Regions from separate parts of the Homo sapiens genome. Here regions 2 and 3 are each linked to region 1. The links are contacts of gene promoters, found by promoter capture Hi-C in blood cells and fetal thymus (Javierre and others, 2016). All regions are on one chromosome and are shown on one strand. The core of a region is centred on a gene start or on the middle of the fragment in contact, and the rest is flanking DNA. Distances in the headings are between cores, read along the strand shown.

Region 1 (3,195 bases), core at 689-3,188:
CAAAAAAAAATAAAAATAAAAATAAATTTAAATAAAAGCACATATCCTATCTATAAATCCTTATAAATGCAAAAGGTAACTTTTTTTTCTTTTTTGAGACAGAGTTTCACTCTTATTGCCCAGGAAAGGCACGACTCTCGCCTCACCACAACTCCCGCCTCCCGGGTTCAAGTGATTCTCCTGACTCAGCCTCTCGAGTAGCTGGGATTACAGGCATGTGCCACCACGCCCGGCTAATTTTGTATTTTTAGAAGAGACGCGGTTTCTCCATGTTGGTCAGGCTGGTCTGGAACTCCCGACCTCAGATGATCCGCCCACCTCGGCTTCCCAACGTGCTGGGATTACAGGTGTGAGCCACCCTGCCCGGAGCAAAAAGATAACTATTTAAGGATGTTCATTATTGTATTGTTTATAAAGCAAAAAAATCTGAAACCTAAATGTTCATCAAGATGGGACAAGGCACACACATAAACTGGAATACTGTGCAACAGTTTTTTAAATGTTAGCTGACTCAGATGTCTAAAATACACTGTATGGCGCATTACAGGTGCTCAATAAATACTGGTTGAAAAGATTTTTGTATGAACACAGAAAAAAGCCTAAAAGCATATATACCAAACTGGTAAGAATGATTCCCTTCAGGAGCATGGGATAAGTAGAGGGGGAGAATAACCATTTTGTGTCTTTTATACTTTTGCGTTGTGTCGATTTGTAAAATAAGTAGGAGCTAATTTTCAAAAAAGATTTAAAAGACTTATTCCTGGTGATGTTTCTTTATCTCTCTCTTTCTCCATTTTGTCTCTATTTTAGAATGATCCTAAAACACAAAAAACGTACTTTCAATGGCCCAAATCATGGAGTGGCTCAGGGAAATGAAATCTGTCTACAAAAAAAAAAAAGTTGAGAATCCTTGTCTTTTTTTCATCATACAGTTTTTTTTTTCTTTTGGTATCACCATTACTTCTCCTAAAGTCACGACATAATATCACCTACAGCAGAAATGAGGACTTCAGTGGAATTGACATCTCCTTCCATCAAGCGCATTTGCAGTCCATCTTTAGCAGGACCTCTCTCTAATGGCTAAGGCTAGGCAGAAGAATTTGAAGACAGTCTGGTTTCCATTTTCCTAATGCAGCCTGGCCCAAGAGCCAGGACTCCCATAAGACTAGTCTACTGTGGGAGTCAGGGTCTTTTCCACGTGTGGAGGCTAGTGTTTGATGCTGGACGGCCTGGAGTAAAGGGCGAAGGGGAGAAGGTAACCAACCAGGCTGGCCTCGGGATTCGCAGAGGAGGGCTGGGGCTTTGACTTCTGCAGGGAGGTGAGCAGTGTGGCCAAGGGCTACTCAAGGAACGCCTCTGCGAGAATTCAGACTGTGGTTGAGCGCACAAAGCAAGAGTGTGCGAAGAAAAGTTAACGCCTCTCCCAGCTGACCCCAAAATCTGCTAATCTGGGCCTGACGGAAAAAATTCGGAGAAGAACCACCTCGGCCGAGTTACGTGAAAAGGCTGGGTACGAACTACTCTGGCTCTACTTGGGGCGCCGGCTCAGAGCGATGGGCAGGACGTCCGCGAGGAAGAAAGAGTGACGATGATTTTTCAAGGAGTCTGAACCAGCTCACCCAGCAAACCCTCCTCCCATCGAGCACCCAGCGTACAATCATCGAAGGGCCGAGGGTCCTGCCCTCAGTCTCGATGGCGGCCGGGGCGCGCCCCGGCCACGGCGCACGCGCCGGCCTCAGCGCTCCCTCCTCCATGCCCTCGGCGCACGGCGCCGCCCACTCACCCAGCTGCACCTCTCCGTGCGTCCCCAAGCTCACCCGCTCTGAGGCTGCCCCCGCTAGTCTAGCTGCCGAGCCCGGAAGTGGATGCAGCCGCTCGGCGGAGAGGACGAGGGGGAGGGGGAAGTGCTTCCGGGGAAACGGGCCGGGGTTGGTGTTTGTAAACTTGCCTCGGTCCCGGTGGGGGCAGCCGCGGCGGTGGGGTTGGCAGGGTGTGCTGGGGCCTGGAGGAGGCGCCGCGCGGCCAGGGAGCCAGCGGGAGGCCGCGCCTGGCAGGTAGGAGCAAGCCCCAAAGACCGCAGCGTCGTCCGTACAGACGGCAGCGCTTCAGTAGCTCGCAAGCCGTGGGGTGCCGCGCGGGAAGGGGGAGGGGAGGGGAGGAGGGGCGCGTGGCGAAGGGAGGGGGATCTCCGGGGGAGGGAGGGGAAAGGCCGTGCGCGCACACCGCCCCCTGCCCGCGCGTCCCGCCGCGTCCCCGGCCCGGGAGAGGGCTCTCGGAGGGGACGCGGGCGCGAGCACGCATCTCGCGCGCTTCTCGGCACTCTCCGGCTCTGCTCCCGGTTGGTGCAGCGGGTGCAGAGGCTGGCTGGCCGGAGCGAGGCGGGCGACACGCCGCGCCGGGCTTCGCCTGCCTGTCCTCCACCTCCGCAGCAAGTTTCCCTACCTTCGGGCGGACGGGGAGAACGCACACGTGTGGGCACTGCCAGTCCCGTTTCTGCCCGCCACCGAAGCACCCAGCGATGGCCCTTGAGCTTTCCTCCACCCTAGTCTTGCCGCCTCTGTAAAGTGCGAGCTTTTCGGGCCGGCCCACTGGGCACAAAAGCCCCAAAGGGTCTCCGCCCCCTTCTTCCATTCCTGAGATGGCAAATCCAAGCAACTTTCCTTTTGGCAGAGTTCCTCCATAGGAGGCCCCAATTACTTTTGCTCCTGTTGGCTTCCACTCCTTGCCCAGGAGACCAGTTCCTCCTATTGACCTAGAAAGAAAACTCTTCTTGACTCATGTCCTCGTTCTGAGCTTCACAGAGAGCGCCCAGCAAAAAAAAAATTCATATCGCACGTTGTAATGGCCTGAAGATGTTGCATTTAGCAGCCCCCCTCTTCCTTTCTGGTTTCAGGTTTCTGAAACAGATCGTGAGCTTCATCAAGAGAATTCAACTGGAAAACCAAGACTGGTAGACTCTCTTTTTCTTCAGACAATAGGCAGGAGCCAGGCAGAGTCCAGGGATTCTTGGAACACCTATCTTTTCTTCGGAGGACACTAAGTTCTATTTGAAGACAAAGTTCAATATGGCAACAGGACTGATGGGACACGAAGGAGTCGCTACCGTGATTTGGTGACAGTTCTTCAAAACGACAGTGTCTCAAGGAAAGGTGGACCTAGGAACTCCTGAACTTTTGGGTTGCCTTAAGTGAGAAA
Region 2 (3,214 bases), core at 430-2,929, 290 kb after region 1:
CACCAAGCACACTAGGTCCTTAATGTTGAGAATGAAATGGTAGTAGTAAACTTTTGCACCAAGGTTGTTTGCAAAGAGGTCTTTTTCTTTTTTAGAGATAGGGTTTCATGTTGGTCAGGCTCGTCTCCAACTCCTGACCTCAAGTGATATGCCTCCCAAAGTGCTGGGATTACAAGAATTGTTTTTCTTTCTTTTTTTTTTTTTTGAGACGGAGTCTTGCTCTGTCACCAGGCTGGAGTGCAGTGGCTCCATCTCGGCTCACTGCAACCTCTGCCTCCTGGGCTCAAGTGATTCTCCTGCCTCAGCCTCCCAAGTAGCTGGGACTTACAGGCACGTGCCACCACGTCCAGCTAATTTTTGTATTTTTAGTATAGACGGGGTTTCACCATGTTGGCAAGGATGGCCTCGATCTTTTGACCTTGTCATCCACCTGCCTCGGCCTCCCAAAGTGCTGGGATTACAGGCGTGAGCCACTATGCCCAGCTTGTTTTTCTTATTTGTAATTAGGATTTTGGAGGGCAAGAAGTTTTCAGTTTTCAGTGGCAAGAATCAGGTTTTTGAAAGCTGGAATTTGTTTTGTTCTTTCGATAGGCTTGCCCTTCATGTAATTTAAATTGTGACTGTTTAAATGTGACCTGCTTGCCTAGCTCCTGCAATAGGTCAGTGGCTACATTGTAAGGAAGCAGAATTCTCTTGGTAGAGTGGCTCTTTTCAGGATCATTGTTACTGAATAGCAATTCGGTATCTTAGCCATGGATTAGGGTCAAAACTTTTCAAAGCTTCATCTAACACCAAAGCAAAGATTATGCATGCACAAAGCTTATTCTTTCTCAACTTGGTGCAGTTTAAATGCAGAAGTCAAAGGGTTTTTTTTTTTTTCCTTTCTCATTTTTTTTAAGTCAAGAAGGATTTTACTGGATTCTGAGCATTTTCTCCTGTCTCTTGATTTTTCATGGTGGCAGTCTGTCCTTTTATATAGTTAGTTGACTTCTGTATCCCTTTCCTTTATGGATTGCAGCTGTCCTTGGACATAGGTAAATAAAATGAGGTTTTAAGAGGAGCCTTTCTGCTCTTGAAGACTTAGCGTTGTGGGCTCAATTGTCCAGGCACACTTCCCAAATATATGTAGTTCTGGCTTAGACACATACAGGCATTTGGGAGACATGTACCCTTACTGTTCTGTGGAGCTTATTTTGGGAGTGGAAGCAGCAGCATTTTCGCTTAAGTATGAATTTTTAGGTGATACTTGAGTTTCTCTTTTCCACTTCTGAAAGGTCCACATTAGAAGTATGATCAGTCAGAAACAACTTTTTATACCACCTCCCACCAGAAAAGCTTCCCTAGTTCTTATCTACACTTCTGTTCTCAGCATTTTTCTTTGAAAACGCTACATTCTTTGAAATTTGAAATTAGTCAGTGACCTACTTTGGACTCTTGTCTCTTTCCACCCTGATACTGGTTTGTTTGCTGTGGAGATGTAAGCAGACTTTAATACATAGCTGGAAGGATTTTTAAAAATTCTGCTTTATAAATATTCAAAGCTTCACAAGTAATTGTGGGATAATTGATTTTCTGTTAGAATAGGAAATTGACATTTGATTAGAGGAAACATTTCTTCCTTGTTGGGTGATTGATGAGTATCTTTTTCTACCCGAAATCATTCCTTCAACATCTGGGTTGGGTCAGTGTGTCAGATACATGAAGTATGTGCCCTATGATTTCTTTTCTCTGTCAGCTTTTTCTTCACCATAGCAGTTTTTAAGTAGCTCTGTGGAATGGAAATATACATATTTAGAGGGTGGGACATAGGCTAAAAGAAAGCTTGTCACAAGTTGACACTAGGTCTTCCTAATTGTCAACCAGAGGCACTTACTGATATAACTGAAGCAGTTTTTGTCCTGTACTTACTCCCTTTTGTGGTCTTCCCTTCCACCCACCCTTTTTTTTTGTTCCTTTTTTCCTCTGTTACAGTTTAGAAAACGCTAAACCCTCCTCCCAGGCAGCCTCCGTCACGATCCCTGATCACCTCAGCATCAACCTCTCTCAACCCTCCACCCCTTCTTCTTCTTCCTCCTCCACCACCACCCCCTCGCTCGCCACAGCGGGGACCTCCGACGCACCCTCCAGCCTCCCCAACCCTCTTCCGACCGCCCCTTGTGTCTCCAGTCTGCTTGGCATGAAACCCATCCCTCTCCTGGCTCTAAATGTTGTGTCTGCTGCTAAGGGTACCGGGGCTTCAGCTACCACCACCACCACCTCTGCCGTGCCATGTGTAACTAACAAACTGAAAGGCGAGAAACAGAGATTCTCTCCCTACTGATTGCATACCTTGAGGCACCTCCTCCAGTATTATTTTGTTCATTTTGTTTTCCTTTGTTAACATTGGTGAGAATGAAACTATTGTGAGCTTGTTACCGTTTCCTTTTTACTACTTTGGGGGATAACTGGGTGGGGGTGGGGGAGTGGTAACCCTTGTTTAGGTTTAGGCCATTTCAGCTGAGTGCCTGTTTCAGGGTCTGACTTGAATTCTTTATCTAGAGCCACAGTTTTCTCTTCTTTCTTGTTTGTTACTTTTCTTTGTAGCTTTATTCTGCCTTGCAATATAACAATGTGTTAGGCTCTGTGTTAATGAATAAAAGCTGCTTCGTTAACTTTTTTTTTTTTTTTTAAGAATTATTTAATGGTTAAGCTATCAGCAGGCCTTCTTGGCCATATTTGTGTTTCTAGCTGTAATAAAGTTGGCGCAGTAAGAACCTTAGTACACTGTGTGCTGTGAAGGGTAAAGGGTTGGGGGCTTGTGACTTGTGGCTATTCAGCTAGGAAGCCTGTATAACTGACATGGGCTTTTTGAATCCCAAGTGAATTTTATAGTCGTTTGTCAATATTTCCACAAAGAGATAACGAGTCTGTGGCAGTTTAGATCCTGAAGGTCCTCTGTAATTGGCAACAAGCTTCACTAGTGAGGAAGTTTATCTGACTTCTCAGATGGCCTTACCTTGCCAGCAGCAGCTAACAAGGTGTTCATCCCAGGATTCCTCTGGTGAATGGTTACCATGAGGATCTCTTCCAAGTCATACATTCAAAGAACATACTTCTTTACCCAGAATGAAGGGGAGGGGCAAAGTGGGATAAGTCTAATAAAATTAGGCAGCTTCTGTCTGCATTCCTCTGAATTAGCATTATGCCTCTTTCTGTGACATTAGGTATATCTCAG
Region 3 (3,319 bases), core at 559-3,058, 340 kb after region 1:
AGACTGAGAACCAACTCAAGAACTATCTAGGGGGTTCTGACCTGCTGCTTCCTTATTTCAGTGCCATTTTGTTACTGTGGTTCTGGCAGTGCTCCTCACTGAGGTCCCGTACACATCTTCCCACTGATAAAAATGAAGTTAGGACTAGATAATTAGTCATGGGGGCTAAGAAATAAAAAAGACCCGCTACATAAATTAGCCACCCAACACAGGGACAGACTGGCAGGGCATGTATGCAGTTACAAATTAATTCTTAACTGTAAAAACACTTGACTGAAGGGGGAAGAAAAATAGTCAAGAGTCTTAGGAAAGCTCCTTAGGAGCCATAAACTCAGTCAAGCTTTAGGGCAAGGCTGCTACTGGGAAATCAAGACAATAAAAAAATGAAACAAAACTCTAAAGCAGGAGAAAATCCCAGGGAGCAGCCAGCTAAAGGGGAAGTCCTGAGCACAAGTTACGGCTGTGAATTTTTAAAGGCAAAAGTGAAGTCCCTGGATGTGGTAACCTGCGTCCTGACCATCTGCCATAACATTTGCTAGTCTGAATCACTTCAGGGCCTATTCCTGTTGGGTACCTGATGGTAGAGGATGAGAAAACCGTGTTTTCTCTCCTTTGTCTTTAGGGGTGTGGCCTGTTCAGCACCAGCTCTGAAAAGCAGGAGGGGAAATTTAAAACAAATGCAGCAGAACCTGTTACCTGACTGGTTCACTAGGACAGGATATCACTTTAAGGAAACGGGAATCTTGTAGCTTAGAACATTTTCTCATTCCCCTGTGACAGTCAATTTTGGAGACAAAATAAGAAAGGAAGCTGGCAGTTATTTTGTATGTATGTTTAAGATGGAGGTAGGAAAGATGGAGAGAAGGACATTCTTGGCTTGCACAGATGGCAGAAAGTGGCTCTGGGACAACTGGAAGGGTTTCATACGGAAAGGCAATTAAAGCTGACCTATCTATCCACAGGCCTCTGGCTCTGAATTGCTTCCTATGGTCCTGGTAGAAACTGCATAGTTCAGAGCCAAGGGGAGATGAGAAGCCTTAACGTGGAAGAGGGACAAGAGAGATGAATTGCTCCCTCTGCAACCCAACTCTTCAAAGTAAGAATGGTTGAGAGCAATAGTCACCAATTTCCCAGGCCAGAACCTGGGGTCCTTTGCTGGGACCAGTTCTGCACTTTCCCTCTCCTCTTCCTCCCTCCTTTCAATCTTATACTCAAGTAAACCCACTCAGCATCTTGGCTATGACGCTTCAAGATCCTGGAGCACTGCATGTAAAGAGAAGAGAGAAGAAATGGGTTGAAGAAACTCTGGAGGACCTGGAAGACCTAGTGGCTAAGCTAGGAACCTGGTGAAAGAGAAAGAAGATAGTCCAGACGGTGATGGGCACTTGTGAACAGAAGACTCTAGCTCAGAAAAGCAGACAGATGTGTGAGGGGGAGAGATGGGGTAGAACAAAGGAACTCGAGAGTCCCCTACATGACAGCCTCCAGGAGGGCTGAGTCTGAAGTAGTTACAGAAGAGAGACAGGGGCGGTAATGTTGATAGGGGAATGAAGAGAGAGAAGCAGGAGCAGAAAAATGACCAAAGATGACAATATGCTTTGGCCGGTAAACTCTTATAAAACATAAAGGAATCGATTAATCCCTAACTTGATGGAACAAGCTTTGAAATACTTTGTTCCTGTCTGCCCTGATGGTTAAACTAAAGAAGGAGGGAGGGGAGGAGACAGAATCAGCCAGTCAGATTCTGGGCCCTTCCCTTTTCACTACCAAGCAATCTTTAATAATAAGGCCACAAAATGAGGTTGCCAAGGCTTAGTGGGGTGGTGGGAAAGACCCCACCACTACACTAAAGTCAAGGGACAAAATGAGGTACCCAAATAGCTCTGCAAATAGATGAAAAAGAATTAGAACTCTTGAGGGTTTCTTTCTTTTTGGTGGCAGGTAGAGAGAAGGAATAAAGCTTATGGAAAAACTGGAAAATACTGCTACTTCATACATCAAAGGTAACCTTACATTCTCCGTAAGTGAATGTTTTAACTAGAATTAAGGAAGAGGAAAAAGGAAACGGGTAAATAAGCAGCTATGGGAGACCTGAGTCCTGAGTCCATGGGGTGGCTGGGGCTGGGTCAGCGGGTAATATGTCATCAAATCTAGCCTCCCTCTATCTGGCAGGAAGTGGCATGCTGGTAAGGAACAAAAAGGTAACAGCCACGGCTTAGTGGGAAGAGAGGGAACTGAGAAACCCCAAACCTAGAAGTGCCAAGGGTTAGTGTTAAAAGAGACAGATACACGTGCATGGGGCAGGGGTGATTGTTCGGACCATCTGGAAAGGCCTTTGGCTGTGGATGCATCAGAAACCCCACCCTGGGGGATGATCTATGAGGCTCCGGGGCTGGGAGGCCCCCAGCACAGGTGTCAAACGTACATGACCACATGGCTAAAAAGCCCCATATCTGTCCATTACTCACAACACACAATTCCCCCCACCCATATTGCCATGTCCAAGGCAGATGGGAGGGGATAAGATGACATCTCTCTTGGCTCTTGGGCGGGCGAGCTCTGGCTGAGGACCTCTCCACCAGAGGAGGCATCATCTGCCCGCAGACTGGGACTGTGGGGTCATGATTACATGCGATTGTATCGGCATGCTCAGTTCTGTCCTTTGGCTGGCCATCTGAGTGAGGACCGAGGTGGCCACAGCTTCAGCTGCAGAGCGAACACTGAGGCCATTGCTAGGGGCTGTTGCTGAGCTGTGCTGAATCACAGGGGCTGGAGAACCCGTTGGCTCTGAGCTTTCCTTGGGGCTTTCTGCCAGGAAGGAGGGCAAAGAGCAGAGAGCAATTGGTTAGAAAACAGAATGGGGAAAGAGGCAGGACTACCTTTTGCCATAATTCTAAAGGAGCCCAAAAGGGAAATGAAACCCATCTTTTTTTTGGGGAAAACTTCCCAGAATCCTGGCTTCTAAGTCATAAATGGGCTAGGAAATGGGAAGTTGTAAGAAGGGAAGAACTAGGCCAAAATTAACCTATCTATTCCAATAAAATGAATCTCCAACATGTTAATTACACTGTCTGGTTTCTAGGTCTTTGCATAGTTCATTACCAACTCTTATTATTATTCATTACTTCTATTCTTTCTTGTTTTTAAGAGATAGGGTCTCAAGTGATCCTCCTGCCTTGGCCTCTCAAAGTGCTGGGATTATAGGCATGAGCCACTGCGCCTGGCCTTCATTTCTTTAAAGATGATTTAAAATAGATCTCTTTTTAGCCATCCTCTTTGATTAATTCTCACAGGAACTGAATTATTCCATTATTTTATT

The links. Contacts are between HindIII fragments. The CHiCAGO score rates a contact against its expected background, and 5 or more counts as called.
Region 2: a contact is called between a fragment that was not itself captured here and the fragment with the promoter of ZNF740 in region 1, in 2 of 17 cell types (naive B cells and activated CD4 T cells). The highest score is 6.3, in naive B cells.
Region 3: a contact is called between a fragment that was not itself captured here and the fragment with the promoter of ZNF740 in region 1, in 1 of 17 cell types (total B cells). The highest score is 5.2, in total B cells.

The regions. Positions count from the first base shown.
Region 1 is chr12:53,178,784-53,181,978 of GRCh38, forward strand. It overlaps ZNF740 (zinc finger protein 740), which reads left to right and starts at 1,939. Exons shown (of 7, transcript NM_001004304.4): 1 at 1,939-2,054; 2 at 2,894-3,195. It overlaps CSAD (cysteine sulfinic acid decarboxylase), which reads right to left and starts at 2,142. Exons shown (of 17, transcript NM_001244705.2): 1 at 1,949-2,142; 2 at 319-359. RefSeq lists an enhancer at 1,408-1,966 and silencers at 1,629-1,718, 2,009-2,308, 2,662-2,956. The HindIII fragment of the contact is 11,552 bases long and covers 1-3,195 here.
Region 2 is chr12:53,472,898-53,476,111 of GRCh38, forward strand. The region is part of intron 14 of PCBP2 (poly(rC) binding protein 2); the gene reads left to right. Among named protein-coding and RNA genes, the nearest start is that of PCBP2-OT1, 10 kb to the left of the region's middle. The HindIII fragment of the contact is 280 bases long and covers 1,540-1,819 here.
Region 3 is chr12:53,514,547-53,517,865 of GRCh38, forward strand. It overlaps ATF7-NPFF (ATF7-NPFF readthrough), which reads right to left. Exons shown (of 15, transcript NR_159377.1): 12 at 2,469-2,808. ATF7 (activating transcription factor 7) reads right to left here. Exons shown (of 12, transcript NM_006856.3): 12 at 1-2,808. The coding sequence ends at 2,591. ATF7-AS1 (ATF7 antisense RNA 1) reads left to right here. Exons shown (of 3, transcript NR_046221.1): 3 at 963-3,062. Among named protein-coding and RNA genes, the nearest start is that of ATF7-AS1, 2.2 kb to the left of the region's middle. RefSeq lists a silencer at 1,335-1,576 and an enhancer at 2,543-3,042. The HindIII fragment of the contact is 300 bases long and covers 1,659-1,958 here.